Regions from separate parts of the Homo sapiens genome. Here region 1 is linked to region 2. Evidence: promoter capture Hi-C in human tissues and cell types (Jung and others, 2019). All regions are on one chromosome and are shown on one strand. Each heading gives the region's core, a stretch centred on a gene start or on the middle of the fragment in contact. The rest is flanking DNA. Distances are from core to core; before and after follow the strand shown. Region 1 overlaps HLCS (holocarboxylase synthetase). Region 2 holds the start of SIM2 (SIM bHLH transcription factor 2).

The links. Contacts are between HindIII fragments. The study calls those that stand out against the background at their distance.
Region 1: a fragment that was not itself captured here is called in contact with the fragment with the promoter of SIM2 in region 2 in 3 of the 25 tissues and cell types used here (H1 embryonic stem cells, aorta and stomach).

Annotation. Positions count from the first base shown.
Region 1 is chr21:36,954,776-36,959,132 of GRCh38, reverse strand. All of the region lies in intron 2 of HLCS (holocarboxylase synthetase), which reads left to right. Among named protein-coding and RNA genes, the nearest start is that of HLCS-AS1, 9.5 kb to the left of the region's middle. The HindIII fragment of the contact is 4,964 bases long and covers 1-4,357 here.
Region 2 is chr21:36,695,774-36,700,604 of GRCh38, reverse strand. SIM2 (SIM bHLH transcription factor 2) reads right to left here and starts at 1,490. Exons shown (of 11, transcript NM_005069.6): 1 at 684-1,490. The coding sequence starts at 858. It overlaps LOC105369308 (a long non-coding RNA gene), which reads left to right and starts at 1,614. Exons shown (of 3, transcript NR_188246.1): 1 at 1,614-1,696. LOC107985492 (a long non-coding RNA gene) reads right to left here and starts at 89. Exons shown (of 4, transcript XR_001755029.1): 1 at 1-89. RefSeq lists enhancers at 1-263, 4,099-4,831. The HindIII fragment of the contact is 19,577 bases long and covers 1-4,831 here.

The DNA.
Region 1 (4,357 bases), core at 744-3,243, 260 kb before region 2:
CCTGAGAGTGCAGGGATGCCCAGGTCCGCAGCTGTGGCTGGGAGGCTGCAGTTATGCCTGGGAGCACTGGGCTCCTGCCCTGCCAACTCAGAAGCGGGAAGGGCTCCTGCCTGCTCCCAGCTCCCCCTGGTTCCACAGAGCGCGTATCCCTGGCCGCGCCTACCCTGCTCCAGACTGGCTGCAGCTGTCATCACTAATACTTAACGGCTCTACAAAGTATTATCATTATTATTATTGCCATTTTGAAGATAAGAAAACTTAGGTTATAAGATTAAATGACATTCCTAAAGTGATAGGAATATCATTGCTAAGTGACAGACAAAGTTTTCTTTCTTTTTTTTTTGGAGATGGAGTCTTGCTGTGTTGCCCAGGCTGGAGTGCAGTGGTGCGATCTCAGCTCACTGCAACCTCCACCTCCCGGGTTCAAGCAATTCTCCTGCCTCACCCTCCCAAGTAGCTGGGACTACAGGCGCACGCTGCCACGCCCAGCTAATTGTTTGTATTTTAGCAGAGACCGGGTTTCACCGTGTTGCCCAGGCTGGTCTCGAACTCCTGAGCTCAGGCAATCTGCCTGCCTCAGGCTCCCAAAGTGCTAGGATTACAGGCGTGAGCCACTGTTCCCGGCCTAGACAAGGTTTTAACCAGCTGCTAAGTGAGAGATAAGATTTTAACCAATGCTTCTATCCTTTCTAGTAACTAGAGAACGAATTAATGGTTTTAAAGAGATCTAGATCATTGAGATTCCAAAATAAAGCTTTTATTAACCTAGGTCCAGTCAAACAGTACTTGTGTCTCTTATGTTTGGTAGAAGACGACCAGCTGTTGATACGACGGTTTTGGTGAACTCAGGGCTAATTTTCTTTCTTTCTTTCTTTCTTTTTTTTTTTTTTTTGAGACAGTCTCACTCTGTCGCCCAGGCTGGAGTGCAGTGGCGCGATCTCGGCTCACTGCAAGCTCCGCCTCCCAGGTTGACGCCATCCTCCTGCCTCAGCCACCCGAGTAGCTGGGACTACAGGCACATGCTGCCACATCCGGCTAATTTATTTATTTATTTATTTATTGTATTTTTAGTAGAGACGGTGTTTCACCATGTTAGCCAGGATGGTTTCGATCTCCTGACCTTGGGATCCACCTGCCTCGGCCTCCCAAAGTGCTGGGATTACAGGCGTGAGCCACCGCGCCCGGCCTCTTTTTTTTTTTTTTCGAGACGCAGTCTTGCTCAGTTGCCCAGGCCGAAGTGCAGTGGCGCGATCTCGGCTCACTGCAAGCTCTGCCTCCCGGGTTCATGCCATTCTCCTTCCTCAGCCTCCCGAGTAGCTGGGACTGCAGGCGCGTGCCACAACGCCCAGGTAATTTTTTGTATTTTTAGTGGAGACGGGGTTTCACCATGTTAGTCGGGATGATTTCCTGACCTCGTGATCCGCCTGCCTCTGCCTCCCAAAATGCTGGGATTACAGGCATGAGCCACTGCGCCCAGCCAATTCAGGGCTAATTTTCATATGCAGAAAAGACGATTCATAAACTTTATTTTTATTTTAAAAATGATTTTGAATTTATTGAAAATATAAATTAAATAATCAAGTAGGTCAAATCACATGAAATTGCTAATATCTGGCTTTTCTTTTTGAACTACAAAGAGGCCTTGTCATATGGTAACTGTATTAGGCAGTTCTTGCATTGCTATAAAGAAATACCTGGAGCTGGATAATTTATAAAGAAGAGGTTCTGCGAGCCATACAGGAAGAGTGGTGCCAGCATGTGCTTCTGGTGAGGGCCTTGAGGAACAGTCATGGCAGAAAGTGACAGAGGTGCAGGTGTGTCACATGGCAAGAATGAGAGTGAGACTGAGCTGGGGGAGGTGCCACACATTTTTAAACAACCAGGTCTTGTGAGAACTCACTCACTATAGGGAGGACAGCACCACACTATTCATGAGGGATCTGTTCCCATTACCCAAACACTTCCCCCACAGGCCCCACCTCAACCACTGGGGATTACATTTCAACGTGAGATTTGGAGGGGACAAACTTCCAGATTCTATCAGTAACCAATTCCTTGGGCTTTTTTTTTTTTTTTTTTTGAGACGGAGTCTGGCTCTGTTGTCCAGGCTGGACTGCAGTGGTGCAATCTTGGCTCACTGCAACATCTACCTCCTGGGTTCAAGCGATTCTTCTGCCTCAGCCTCCCAAGTAGCTGGAATTACAGGCACCTGCCACCATACCCGGCTAATTTTTTGTATTTTTAGTAGAGACGGGGTTTTACCATGTTGGCCAGGGTGGGTCTTGAACTCCTGACCTCAGGTGATCTGCCCGCCTCAGCCTCCCGAAGTGCTGTGATACAGCCATGAGCCACCATTCTGGCTCCTTGGACTTTTATTTATTTTTTATTTATTTATTTATTTTTGAGACGGAGTCTCGCTCTGTTGCCTAGGCTAGAGTGCAGTGGCACGATCTCGGCTCACTGCCAACCCTGCCTCCCGGGTTCATGCCATTCTCCTGCCTCAGCCTCCCGAGTAGCTGGGACTACAGGCGCCCACCACCACACCCGGCTAATTTTTTTTGTATGTTTAGTAGAGATGGGGTTTCACCGTGTTAGCCAGAATGGTCTTGATCTCCTGACCTTGTGATTTGCCCACCTCGGCCTCCCAAAGTGCTGGGATTACAAGTGTGAGCCACCACACCTGGCCTACAAACTCAAATATCTTAAAATATTTCATTTCATTTTAGGACTCTAGGTACACAGAATTGGGTTAACCATACTCCTTGTTCCAAATGTACTCTCATCGTTGGTTTATGCATGGATCTCATTCACCTGTGGATTTGAAATAATACAATAAATACCCATGAACTCACCGCTAGAACTACACGTGCCTCCCCACCCCCTGAGTCCATCTACTTGCTCCTGCTCCTTCCTCATGACTCCCCCTACCCCTCCTCCCAGTTTCTTTTTAGATTTTTAAGTTGTCTGGATTAACAGACACCACGTTTTTGAACACTTACATAATTCGTATACATTATAGTTAATGTGTTGCTTCACGACAGATACACATTGTGAGAAATGCGTCCTTAGGTGATTTCATCATGCAAACATCATAGAGTGTACTTATACAAGTCTAGATGCTGTAGCCTACTTTACACCTGGGATTTATGGGGTAGCCTATTGCTCCTAGGCTATAAACCTGTACAGCATGTTACTGCATTGGATACTGTAGGCAGCTGTAACACAGTGGTAAGTATTTGTGTATCTAAACATAGAAAAGGCACAGTAAAGATACAGTATAAAAGATAAAAAACAGTACACCTGTCTAGGGCACTTGCTATGAATGGAGCTTACAGGACTGAAAGTGGCTCAGGGCGAGTCAGTGAGTGAGTGGCGTGTGAATGTGAAAGCCTAGGACACAACAGTCACTACTTTAGACTTTATAAACACTGTACACTTAGGCTACACTGAATTTATAACAGCCTTCTTCTTCGATAATAAATTAATCTTAGCTTACTATCATATTTTTACTTTATAAACTTGATTTTTTAAAATTTTTGATTCTTTCGTAATAACAGCTTAAAACAAACACATTGTACAGCTGTAAAAAATATTTTCTTTCTATCCTTATTCTAAAAGCTTTTTTCTAAGATTTTATATATTTAAAAAAAAATTTTGTTTTTAAAATTTTATTCTTATTTTCATTTATTTATCTCTACAAATTTGTGAACATACAAATTGCTATGTTTCCTAGACTGATCTCCAACTCCTGGCTTCAAGCAGTCCTCTCACCTCAGCCCTCACCAAGCACTGGAATTATAGTTGTGAGCCACCATGTCCAGCCTGTTTCTTACTTTTTAAACTTTTTTTGCTAAAAACTAACGTAGAAACACACACATTAGTCTAGGCTGCCCAGGGTCAGGATCATCAGTATCACTGACTTTCACTGCACATGTGTCCTCCTGGAAGGTCTTCACGGGCAGTAACGTGCATGGAGCAGTGAACTCCTGTGATAACAATGCCTTCCCCCACAGTAGCTCCTGAAGGACCTGCCTCAGGCTGTTACAGTTAACTGTTTTGTTGGGTTTTTTTTGAGACAGAATCTCACTCTGCTGCCCAGGCTAGAGTTCAATGGCACTATCTTGGCTCATTGCAACCTCCGGCCCCAGGTTCCAGCAATTCTCCTGCCTCAGCCTCCCAAGTAGCTGGGATTACAGGTGCCTGCCACCACACCTGGCTAATTTTTATATTTTTAGCAGAGATGAGGTTTCACATGGTGGCCAGACTGGTCTCAAACCCTTGACCTCAAGTGATCCCCCCGCCTCGGCCTCCCAAAGTGCTGGGATTACAGGCATGAGGCACCACACCCAGCTGTTTT
Region 2 (4,831 bases), core at 241-2,740:
CTTCACCTCCTCCAGAAGAGACAAAAAGAGGGAGGAATGAAGGAAAAATAAAGGGAATCGTAGAAAGAAAAGGAGGAAGGGAAGGAGGGATAAAGAAAGGAAGGGATGGGGAAAGAAAGAAAGCAAAACCAGAGTGAACTTCCAAAGAAAGGAAGGAAAGCAGAAAAGGAAAGAAAACAAACCAATGCATTGGCAAAGGAAGGAAGGAAGGAGGGAGGGAGAGAGGGGGCCAAGGAAGGAAGGAAGGGGAGAATGAAAGAAAGAGGAAGAAAGAAAGAAAAAGAAAGAGAAAGAAAGAAAGAAAGGAAAGAAAGAGAGAAAAAAATCCAAACCAAACCAGAATGCACTGGCGAAGGAAGGAAGGAGGAAAGGGAGAAAGAACAAAACCAGAAAGAACTCGCTGGCCGTGCGGGCTGGGGGACTGCCTGCCCCTGGAACAATTCGTAATTCGCCCTCACCCAGCCCTGGACCAGGAGAGGGTTTGGTCGCCTGGGCCGCCAAGGCCCTGGCCCCTCGCCCCAAGCCAGCGCCGAAGCCGAAGACCCTCACGCAACCTCCCTCAGACGCCCCAGCTCTGGACGCCAGGCCGCGGCAACCCCTCTGGGCGGGCTGGCTTGCGCTTCCCGCCTGGGCCGGGGCCGCCGGGCTCCCCAGCGTCCCCGGCCGCCCACCTGAGGCCTCACCTTCGGGGAAGACGGCGCGCATCTTCAGGTAGCTCGTGGTGAGGCGGATGATGGACGCTTTGTCCAGCTGCGAAGTGATGGCCGACGGCAGCGGGAGCAGCTTGGCAAGCTCGTAAAACTCGCCATTTTCCTTCTCCCTCCTGGTCTTGGCCGCATTCTTGGACTTCTCCTTCATCGCGCCTCGGCTCCGGGCATATTAGACCCGGCCGTGCTCCAGGCCCGCGGAGCCCCGCTCGGGCTGCGGCGGCGGGGATGGGGAAGGGGGAGCCGGGAGCCAGGTGAGTCCGCGGAGTGGGCCGCGGGCAGGTGCGGGGGGCCTCCCGGGGTTCCGAGACGCCTCCCCGCAGCCGCCGGGCCTGAGCTCCGAGCAACCCGGCGGCGCCGCCCGCCGCTGCCCGGAGCGCAGCCTCCTCCGGGCTGGACCGTCCTGCAGCAACCGGAGCCCCGTTCCTGCTCGCTCCTGTTTCCTCCCTCCTGCCTCTCCTGCCTCGGCCTTCCTGGGGGGTGGGGGCGGCCGGCGCGGAGGCGGAGGCGCTGCTTACTCCTTCGTCGAGTGCTCGAACCGGCTGCGGCAAGGCCCCTCCGGACCGGAGGGCGACAGGGGCGGCGGTGGCCGCGGAGCCATGGAGCGGGAGCCCAGCGGAGGGGAGCGAGTCGCAGGCGGCTGGGGCCGGGCCCTGGCCCGGGCGCGCTCTCCTGCCCTTCCTGGCGGCTCCCTGTGCCTGGAGACGCAGCGCCGGAGCCCGCGATGTGTGGCTAGGCGCAGCACCTCCGCTGTCCACGTGCGGCCGAGCCGCGTTTGTTTATGGCAGACCCGCCTTCGGGCGGAGCACTGGCCGCCTGGGTCCCGGAGGGGGGAGCGGGAGGGGGGAGGGACCGCGGCGGGGGCGGGGGCGGCGAATCTTGCCTCCGACCCCGCCGCGGCCCTGGAGTCACAGGCGCGCCTCCGCGTCGCTGCCTCCAGGGACTCTCCCGGGAGAGACCCGCGCGCTCCCGGGTTCGGGGAAGTCGCGGTGAGTGCACACGGCGCGCCGCGGGGACCCGCTCCTGAGCGCCGGTCGCCGGACCCCGGAGCTAGGATGGGCGGCAGGGAGGGCGAGGGAAGGAGGGGTGCCGAGGCCGCCCCTGTGGCTCTCGGGAAGGTCACCAGCAGGCGCGGCCGAGAGGAGGCGGCGCGACTCGTTGGCCAGGCGCCCTGCCGGGGAGGATCGAGCCTTCCGAGGGTGCGCTGGTCCCGCGTCCTCGCCCTCCCGGTGTTGCAGGTCCAAGAGCTGAAAAGGGGAAAGCCGGGAGCCCCCCTCCCCCCATTACACACACACGTGAAAACGGCGCGAGTGGCTCCGAAGTGACCCTTCTGCCCTTTCTGTCCTCGAAACACTAAGGTGCAAAGAGATTGTCGCCTTCTCAGGAGGAGCGGGAGGCCGCAGGGGCGCTCAGGCCAGGGGAAGGGAGGGGCCAGGGAGCCCAGCCGAGTGGTGAGGCCTCTCCCAGGGCGCCGGCGGAAACAGGGCCCAACTGCCGGGGCGGCGGCAAAAGCAGCCCGATTCAGCGCAGCCGGAATTTTGAGGAATCGGCGTTGGGCGATTAAGGGCCAAGGTCGCTGAGCCAGGGTCACAGGGTGGGCGCAGGTGGCGCAGGTGGGGCCCATGGTGATGGGGCAGAAGGCAATTGGAGAAAGAAGACTCCGTTGCAGACGCGGCCACTGGGCATTCTGGACTCTCCTTCAGGGTCATTTTGGACCTAAAGAGTCCTTTTGTCCCCCCTCTGCCCTCCCCTGTCCGGCTCCCGCAGCCTGGAAATGGGTGTGCGGCCCAGGAGTCCTCCGCGCACCCCTGCAGCGGCGGTCACATAACCCCACCTCTTCCAGGAGTGCAGCTTTCCCGGCCCCCCAGGCCAGAGACAGGCTCAGAGGACGCAGGGCAATTCCTTACCTTGGCGTCGAGATCATGTGGGGACTCTCGGCCGTGTGCCACAGGCTGCAGAGCCGTGGAGCAGTGGGGTGCGTGACCTGGAGGTCAGCAGGGGCCGGGAGGACACCGGGCCGCGGATGGGGGCGCGGAGATTTGGGTTCTCGGTGTCACTGCTCTCGCCACTGGCCCGGGATCATGAGCCTGCTGCTCCGAAAACTCGCCGTCGGACAGCGACTGAGTATCCGCTTCCCTCCCCTGGCCCTCCCCTGCGCCAGGAAGGCCTGGCCTTCGGCAACCGTGCCTGCAGCAGGCGCTCCTGACCTTTTCCAGGGACTCCTTTGAAGGTCAAAAGTTCGAAGGCGTTCGAAGCCGAGCAGGCTCCCTCCAGGGGCTGGAAGGTGTGCGCAAACCCGGGCTCTCCCCCTGCCTGTCCCTAGCCCCTTGCGGAGTCCACATCGTGGCCAGGGCTCGCAGGCTTGGTGCTCCGAAACCGCGACGCCACGCGAGCCGGACGCACAGAGTAACAGCGCTTTCCTTTGGGGTTTCGGATCCAGGAGCGCTTTCCTGTTGCAGCGGCTTGAGCAGAGGGCCATGGGCTAGCGGCGCGGGTCTCCAATGCCCAAGCCTGGCGAGTCGGACCCACCTCCGCGCCCAGGATCCCGCTCCTGGCTGCGCTGACAGCTGCCGGCTCCGGGCCTCTGGGAGAAGGAGCTCCAAGGGGTTAGAGGCTACGGACCCAGCCCCTGCCGCAGCTTCCGCAGGCGGCCCCCTGAGCCCGCTCTGGCACCTCCTGGGCTTCGGGAGGATTTAATGCGTTTCTCACCCCCACGGCTTCCGACCCTCAATTATGGACCCGGGAGAATTCCTCCTGGGCTTGAAAGGGATTACCCAGATCGCAGAAACATGGCTAAGTGGAAGTGGGAGAAACCCGACAAGTAACAAGAACGGAAACTTTCCTCAAGGCAAATTTCCCGGATTTTACGGGAAAGCGCACTTATCTTCCCAGGGACAGCCTCTGTTCACGTGTCCGCGAGGCAGGTTCGAAGCGCGCTACGGGAGGCAGAGCAATGCCGTGTTTGAAGACTGGAAGATACGTGGGTGTGAGATACCTCCAGGCCCAACGCCTGCCCAGCAGCTGCCCAAGCAGACGTTGTGTACTCGGCTCCCCCAAGCACATCCTTTCGCCGTACACGCGCGCGCGCGCACACACACACACACATCCACACACACACGCAGCTGTGGCTCTGGGGTCCCTGATGGCACCACGCAAAGTACCAGAAGTACACGGGCACCGCACCTCGAGGTTTCCCAGGTAGGAAGGACAGGGATGCCTCTGTGGAATTGTGAAGGAAGAAACCCAACCCTTGGTGGGGGCCGTCCCGGAGCTCTCCCTGCTGGAGGGGGAGCCTCGGGCCCTCGGAAAAGGACACTTAGAGCTAATACCCACAGGCCGTATGTGGGATAGTTAGTATGAAGCTGGAAGCTCTGTTGGAATGGAAAAGTACCGGGCAGGTGCTCACTAGAGTGGTCAGGAGCATCGGCGGTGACCGCAGATTGGGACACCTCCTATGTCTTTCCCTTCTGGCGCGGGGAGAAGAAATTCCTGGTCCAGGTATTGGGCCTAAAGCCGAACGCCCAGCTCAGAAAGCCCGGACCAGCCTCGCGGGCCCCAGGGGGGAGGCAGAGATGGAGCGCACGACCCCCGAGTCCGAGGCACCGTTCTAAATGGCGGTTCACCCACTGGCCCCAAAGGAGCCTGAAGAGTAGGGAATGAAAGGAGACTGGGGGCTGGAAAAGGGCGGTGTGGAGACGGGTCGGACGCATTGAGGTCCGGACCTCTCAGTACGTCCCCACCCGCAGTCTGTCCCACTGCGCGTGCGAGCAAGCCGCCTCGTACCCCACCTCTTAGAAATGTTCCATTAGGAAACTTATCTGGAAGAAATTCAGGCCCCAAGAGGAACGAGGCGGGCCCGGATCGCCTCACATCTGCTTGGATTTTCCGCTTCAGATGCTCCGCAACTGTTCTTCCCCAGGCCGCGCCGGCGCCTACCTGCGATCCATCCCCAGCGGAAGCCGACTCGGGAGAGATCAAGGGAAGAACTCCGGCCGTTCCCCGCGGGATGGGAGAGGCTATTGCAGTGGCAGCAGGAGATCAGAGACCTTGTCACTAAGGAGGTGGGGGAGGGGGAAGAATTTCCAACCTCTGAAGTGGAGTTTAAGAACTTCCACTGCCCCAGC